Regions from separate parts of the Homo sapiens genome. Here region 2 is linked to region 1. Evidence: promoter capture Hi-C in 16 types of primary human blood cells and fetal thymus (Javierre and others, 2016). All regions are on one chromosome and are shown on one strand. Each heading gives the region's core, a stretch centred on a gene start or on the middle of the fragment in contact. The rest is flanking DNA. Distances are from core to core; before and after follow the strand shown.

The links. The method cuts DNA at HindIII sites, captures the fragments that hold promoters and counts their contacts. A CHiCAGO score of 5 or more calls a contact.
Region 2: a fragment that was not itself captured here is called in contact with the fragment with the promoter of DUSP3 in region 1 in 1 of 17 cell types (endothelial precursors); the score reaches 7.4 in endothelial precursors.

What each region holds. Positions count from the first base shown.
Region 1 is chr17:43,777,400-43,781,247 of GRCh38, forward strand. DUSP3 (dual specificity phosphatase 3) reads right to left here and starts at 1,578. Exons shown (of 3, transcript NM_004090.4): 1 at 1,401-1,578. The coding sequence starts at 1,525. It overlaps CFAP97D1 (CFAP97 domain containing 1), which reads left to right and starts at 3,036. Exons shown (of 6, transcript NM_001136483.3): 1 at 3,036-3,187; 2 at 3,720-3,790. The coding sequence starts at 3,064. RefSeq lists an enhancer at 842-1,136 and a silencer at 1,069-1,758. The HindIII fragment of the contact is 2,587 bases long and covers 256-2,842 here.
Region 2 is chr17:43,502,859-43,506,641 of GRCh38, forward strand. It overlaps DHX8 (DEAH-box helicase 8), which reads left to right. Exons shown (of 23, transcript NM_004941.3): 12 at 1,786-1,967. Among named protein-coding and RNA genes, the nearest start is that of DHX8, 21 kb to the left of the region's middle. The HindIII fragment of the contact is 6,640 bases long and covers 1-3,783 here.

The DNA of each region.
Region 1 (3,848 bases), core at 328-2,827:
ATGGATGAGAACTGTCCCCATGAGGCTGGGGCCTGATGGACCCCTTCTAGTTCCATGATGACCCCCATTTCCGTGGCAGTCCTTGGCAGGCTAAACAGCAGGTCATAGCGGAGGTCAGGAAATACATACATGAACAAGACATTGACCCTGTCCTTGTAGTCCCTCACACACTCTGAGCCACCATTTCCTCCTCTGTAAAATGGGAGGAGGGTTAGTTTTGAGTTTTCAACATGCCATCCTTGGGCTGAGCCATGAAGCTTAGGATTTTGGTAACTGGGTCCTCAGAGTATCGTGAAAATCCAACTTGAGGCTTTCCAAGGCTGTACAGGCATGCTAATATATTCTTTCTTGAGGCTCCTATTTCACATCTCAGAATGTTAACACTGGTTCTTTCCTGCTGATTAGACATTCTTACTAGAAAAAAAATTTAAAATTTAAATTAAAAAAAATCTCTTACTGTCCGGGTGCGGTGGCTCACGCCTGTAATCCCAGCACTTTTGGAGGCCGAGGTGGGCGGATCATGAGGTCAGGAGTTTGAGACCAGCCTGGCCAAGAGACCAGCCTGGCCAATATGGTGAAACCCCGTCTCTACTAAAAATACAAAAAGTAGCCAGGCGTGGTGGCGGGCGCCTGTAATCCCAGCTACTCGGGAGGCTGAGGCAGGAGAATTGCTTGAACCCAGGAGGCAGAGGTTGCAGTGAGCCGAGATCTCGCCATTGCACTCCAGCCTGGGTGACAGAGCCTGGGGGTGAAAGGTCAAGAGCCTTTTCTAGGTGGTGGCTCAGGTCCTTAGGGGGGTTATCACTGGACCGTTCTAGAATCTCCTGTAAATCAAATCACATCTGGAAGGTGGGGGCCTGGAAATCCCGGCCCAGCTCCCCGGACTCGCTCATTTGGGGTGTTTAGGTTCCCTGATCCGGGACTGCCGGGCCGGGAAAATTCCATGCCCGAATTGTGACGTCGGCCCGTTGCCATGGCGGCGAAGGCAGACATTCCGCGGTGACCTCACTGCAGAACCAGGCAGCTGTCACATGACGCGCGGGCAGGAGACCGGCCGGGCGACCGAGGGTCACCTGTTAAGTGAACATGGTAGCCCCGACCCCGCCCAAGGCCAAGCCCCAAGCGGGTGGCGGCTGGGACCCGGGCAGGCGCCACCCGGGCTCCGTGCACCCCGCCACGGGGAAGGGCCGCGCCCGGCCAGGCAGGGTTCCAGTTCCTTGGCCCCACGCGCGGGGGTAGGCGTCGACTCCAGGCCCCTCCCAAGCCCCCGCTGTGGCTCCCGGAGGGGCCATCGCGCCCGGGCTCCCCCAACCCAAGACTCGCGACACCCCGACCCCAGCCTCGGGTGGGCGGGGCGTCCCGAGAGGGACGGCGGGGCCGGGCTCGCGAAAGGGACTCACGCGTTGCCCACGTAGATCCGCGGGGTGACCTCGTTGCAGGGCTGGCTCGGGAGGCTGTAGCAGCCGCTGCCGTCCGAGAGCAGGTCGTTGAGATCCTGCACCGAGAGCTCGAACGAGCCCGACATGGCGGCGGCGGGGCCCTGCACGCCCGGCAGGAGCAAGCGAGGCGGAGAGCGGCGGATCAGCTGGGCGGGGGCTCGCGCCGGGAGCCGCCCCGTCCCGCCCCTGGGGCGGGCCCGCCGGGCTCCGGGAGCTGCGGAGCGCGGGCGCCGTGACGCGGGGGCCCCGCGCGCCACTCCTGGGCGCGTCCCGGGGGGAAGACGCCACCGCCCTGGAGTCTCAGGGGTCCTCGCCCCATCCCGGTCCAGGCCGTTTGTGTATCTTTGTAAACTGGCAAGCGCGGTAACTTCCTTCCCTGAATTAAATGCAGGGCCCAATAAACATTTCGTGGCGGAGGTACACCTAGGGGTCGCTTCAGTCTTTCATGATTACAGGGACCGCCGGGTTCGGCTCGTGAGCGGCTCCCTGCAGTGGAGGCACCACCCGGGCGCTTGACAGAATCCCCGCCCCAGCCCAGCCCTGCTGGATCAGAGTGGACATTTTACGGACCCCAGGAGGTCCCTACGGTCAAAGTCTGAGAAGCCCTACTCTGGGGCGCATCTGCTTTCAACATTCATTGAGAGTCATCGTCGTGCTTAAAAGCAGTCAGGTTTGGAATTCTGAGGAATTACTTAACCTGAGCCTGTTTGCAGGGAAAAAAAAAAAAAGCGGGATAGTAATGGTACCTAATTCTAGGGTTGCTGGAAGGGTTAAATGTGACATTCAAAGAAGGCACCCAGCACTGCATGGCGAGCACTCAATAGGTGTTAGTCCTTCATCAACAAATGCGTTGAGCACCCAGTGGGTGCTATACCCTGTGCTGGGGTGGAGATAAATCAGACTCCTGCAGCCCTTCCTGGAGCAGATGCCAGCCCACCATAAGCCACTCAGCATTTCCTGAACTCCCACTAAGTACAAAAGATAGTCTCTGTACTGGAGGAAAGCTGCCCTCCCCTACTGCCATGAAAAACTGGCAGTTTCCTTCCTGCAAAAGGGCAAATTTGGCCTTGAATTCAGGAACCCCACATCCTGAGCCCAGCCCTGCCACCAACTTGGTTCTTGAGTAACGTTGCTGCTGCTGTGGTCTTCAGTTTCCTCATTTGCAAAAGGAATTGGATCCGATTATCATTAGGGTCAACTTTCTCCTCCTCCAAAACTTGTGGTCTTGCACCTTCAGGGGAGCTATTGCAGTGGAGACTACTTAGCTGATAGCCCAAGATGTGTAACCAAGGCTGGAATTTCTGTATCCCTCACCCCACCCCGTGCCTGCCCACCCCTCCCGGTGCACCACTTCTTTCCTTCTGGTGTTGGCTGGCAGCATCTGCATTCTAAGCAGCGGGGAAAGCTTTCGAGTTCCTTGACCTTCATCTTGACTTGAGCCGAGGTTAGCATTAAAAACACAAGCCCAGAGGCAGCCAGCCATGCTCTGCTGCTCCTACTCCCTTCCCGGGACCTGTCCCTGATGTCATAACTGGGTAACTATGACAGCTTGTCATGGGGACAGCTAGGCACCTCACAGAGGAGTCTGGGTACCTCATTTCTGAAGTGAGACTAGGAAGAGAAGATGAACAATTCCCTGGATTATCTGGCCTACCCTGTTATCGTCTCTAATCACAGGCAAAGCACAACCTTCAGAAAGAAACTGGACTTTGGCCACTACGTATCTCACAAGAATAGAATACAAATAGGTATGTGGGCAGTTTGGGCTGGACACTGCTATTAGGGATTTTGGAATGGTACCCCATAAAGAGATCAACAGGAAACCAGACCAGGTCACAGCTTTGGGATGATATGGCCTTATCTGCTGAGTTTGGGGAAGAGGGCATTAGCACCAATAACAAAATGTATCTTCCACCAGGGAGTTCACTGGATGGAAATACTCCTTTAAACTCCTTAAAGCCGAAGTACGTTAGAAAGGGGATAAGACTTCAGAAGCCAATAGACAGGCTAATAATATTGGAAAAAGATTGGAAGAGAAGCTCTTTCATTGGATTAGAAGGACATTTATCTCTGTAAATTTTATTTTCACTATTCTTTTGTTTCTGCTCAAAACTCTCCAGAGATGTTCATTTGATAAATCAAACCAAACTTCTTGAGTCGCATTAAGGTCCTAATTCGAAATTGTTCATTAGTCAAGGACATTGTCTAGTGCTGGTTTTCTGAGGCCGCTACTGGAATTCCTGTGATGTAACATTGTTCCCTTTTATCCCCCTTCTCTAGCGAAGCCTACTGTTGATACCAAACCTCCAGTGGCGCACACAAATCACATTTTAAAATTGAGCAAACTACAGGTATTTGTTCTTGCTGCTTGCAGATGTGCAGATGTATTTTATTGACTTCCAGTCTGTT
Region 2 (3,783 bases), core at 1,112-3,611, 270 kb before region 1:
TCATTCCCTTTTACCCTTTAGTGAAATGTTCTCCATGACCCTCCTTTGGCCTCTGCCTAAGCTCACTTATTTGGTTAGTAGGCATAAGTATTTTTTCGTAGCCAGCTTTTGGCATCAAATTTGTAAAATGTTTGCATATGCTAGAGAGCCACTAAAATTCTGCTCATTTTTTTTTGCTCCTCAAGCCACAATTCCAAGGTGAATCTTGAAAATATAAGCTAGGTCTGGGCAAGGTGGCTCACACCTGTAATCCCAGCACTTTGGGAGGCTGAGGCAGACAGATCACTTGAGTTGGGGAATTTGAAACCAAGCTGGGCAATGTGGTGAAACCCTGTCTCTAAAAAAATACAAAAATTAGTCCAGGCATGGTGGCTCATGCCTGTAATCCCAGCAGTTTGGGAGGCTGAGGCGGGTGGATCACCTGAGGTCAGGAGTTTGAGACCAGCCTAGCCAACATAGTGAAACCCCATCTGTGCTAAAAACAGAAAAATTAACAGATGTGGTGGCACGCACCTGTAATCCCAGCTGCTAGGGAGGCTGAGGCAAGAGAATCACTTGAACCTGGGAGGCGGAGGTTGCAGTGAGCCGAGATCACGCCATTGCACTCCAGCCTGGACAACAATTGCGAAACTCCATCTAAAAAAAAAAAAAAAAAGTTTAGCCGTGTGTAATCACGTGCACCTGTATTCCCAGCTACTCAGGAGGCTAACGTGGGAGGATTGCTTGAGCCCAGGAGGTGGAGGTTGCTGAGCTGAGATCTCGCCACTGCACTCCAGCCTGCTGGGCGTCTGAGCCAGACCCTGTCTCAGAAAAAGAAAAAAATTAATCTGAGAGAAACCAGGCACAACAGACCACATATTGTATGAAGTATCCAGAATAGAACCCGTAGACATAGAAAGTAGACTAATGGTTGCCAAGGGAAAGGAAAAGGGAGGAATGGGGAGTAACTGCTAATGGGTACAGGGTTTCTTTCTGATATGATGAAAATACTCTAAATAGTGGGGATAGTTGCACAACTTAATGAATATACAGTAAAACACTGAGTTAAACACTTAAAAAGAGTAACACGGAGACCTGGCTTGGTGGCTCATACCTGTAATCCCAGCACTTTGGGAGGCCAAGGAGAGAGGATTCCTTGAACCCAGGAATTTGAGGCTGCAGTGAGCCGTGATTGCGTCACTGCACTCCAGCCTGGGAAACAGAGCAAGACCCTGTCTCAAAAAAATAAAATAAAATAAAAAAAGTGTAACATGGTTTGTGAATTACATCTCGATATAGCAGTTATTTAAAAAGGGGAGAGTGCTGCGCATGGTGGCCATACCTGTAATTCCATTACTTTGGGAGGGTGAGATGGGTGGATTGCTTTAGCCCAGGAGTTCGAGACCAGCCTGGCAACATAGAGTGACCTCTTCTCGCTTGAGCCCAGAAGGTCGGGGCTGCAGTGAGTCAGGATTGCACCACTGCACTCCCACTTGGATGACAGAGCAAGACCCTACCTAAAAAAAAATAATTCCAGTGTCAAGCAGTCAGGTCTTCACTTCTCTCAACTAACCTTTTTTCTGACATCACAGGTGTGTAGCACCACTTGTTACAGTCTCTTTCCCATTCCCTGCTGCCCCTTCTATATTCTTTTCTTCACATTAATTTGTTTCTTTGAGTACTTTTGATCACGGGTCGCTGAATTGAGATGCTGCATGTGCAGTGCCCGCATGCCATTTTATTTTTTTCCTGGTACATCTTGAGGTAGCTTGAGGACAATACTAAGTTGCCTGTTTTCCTTTCCAGCGGAAGGCAGACAGATTGCTGCCAACATGAGGGGTATTGGGATGATGCCCAATGATATTCCTGAGTGGAAGAAGCATGCCTTTGGGGGCAACAAAGCCTCTTACGGAAAAAAGACCCAGATGTCAATCCTTGAGCAGAGGGAGAGCCTGCCCATCTACAAACTGAAGGAGCAATTGGTCCAGGTGAGAAGACTTTTATGATGTATTGGTGGGGAGTAGGGTTATTGTCTAAAAGAGGGGTGATATTTTTAAACTGAAACTAACGGGACAAGTATGTGCCTACTTGAAGTGGCTCATCCAAAAGAGTTAAGAAAGAAGGATAAAACTTTCTAAATACTTTTTTTTTAAATGGGGCTGGGCGCGGTAGTGGATGCCTATAATCCCAGCACATCAGAGGCCAAGGCAGGAGGATCACTTGAGCCTAGGAGTTTGAAACCAGCCTGAGGCAACATAGGGAATCTTGTCTCTACAAAAAATAAAAAATTTGGTGGGGCGTGGTGGCCCACACCTGTAATCCGGCACTTTGGGAGGCAAAGGTGGGCGGATCACAAGTTCAGGAGTTCGAGACCATCCTGGCCAACACGGTGAAACCTTGTCTCTACTAAAAATACAAAAAATTAGCTGGGCGTGGTGGCGCATGCCTATAATCCCAGCTACTCTGGAGTCTGAGGCAGGAGAATCGCTTGAATCAGGGAGTCGGAGGTTGCAGTGAGTCAAGATCACGCCGCTGCACTCCAGCCTGGCTACAGAGAGAGACTCTGTCTAAAAAAAAAAAAATTACCTGGGTGTGGTGGTCCATGCCTGTAATCCCAGCTACTCGGGAGGCTGAGATAAGAGGATTGCTTGAGCCTGAGAGGTCGCGGCTACAGTGAACTGCAATCACACCACTGCACTCCAGCCTGGGCGACCAAGTGAGACCCCATATCACAAATGTTTGTGTGTGCGTGTACAGACACACATACTTATGTATGTGTCTGTATATCTTCTTTTTCCTGGGGCCCCTAGAACAGTTTCCAAGTGGGCAGAGTATTGTGTTGCATGGACCAACAGCTCTGTTCAGTAATTAAAAATGAGGATACTCAGTCAATAAACTCATATGGGCAACTCATAGAGTGCTTCGGTACTCTATATTCTGGAGTTCTGATTTTAAGACCACCGAGTCTTCCTTGAGGTAATCAGGTTTACTAGTTTCTAGTGAATCCTTTCAACAATATCTTATATGTATACAAGCAAGTACAAATATATGCACACACACGCACACACATTTTATATGAGTACTGTGTGTGTTTACAGGTGGCAGTGATATTATATACACTGTTCTACATCTTTTTCCACTTAATGATATATCTCAGAGATTTGTGTGTGTGTGTGTGTATGTGTGTGTGACAGAGTCTCGCTTTGTGCAGGCTGGAGTACAGTGGCTTGATCTCAGCTCACTGCAACCTCTACCTCCTGGGCTCAAGTGATCTTCCCACCTCAGACTCCCAAGTAGATGGGACTACAAGGCATACACCATCATGCTCAGCTAGTTTTTTGTATTTTTTGTAGAGATGCGGTCTCACTATATTGTCCAGGCTGGTCTTGAACTCCTGGACTCAAGCAATCCTCCCTCCTTGGCCTCCCAAAGTGCTAGGATTACAGGCATGAGCCACTGTGCCTGGCCTTCTTAAACAAACAAACAAAAAAAATTGCCAGGCCAGGCACAGTGGCTCACACCTGTAATCCCAATACTTTGGGAGGCCAAGGCGGGCGGATCACCTGAGGTCAGGAGTTCGAGACCAGCCTGGCCAACATGGTGAAACCCTGTCTCTACTAAAAGTACAAAAATTAGCCGGGCGTGCTGGCGGGCACTTGCAGTCCCAGCTACTTGGGAGGCTGAGGCAGGAGAATCACTTGAATCCGGAAGGTGGAGGTTGCAATGAGCTGAGATCATGCCACTGCACTCCAGCATGGGCGACAGAGTGAGACTTCATCTCAAAAAAAAAAAAAAAGCCTTTTT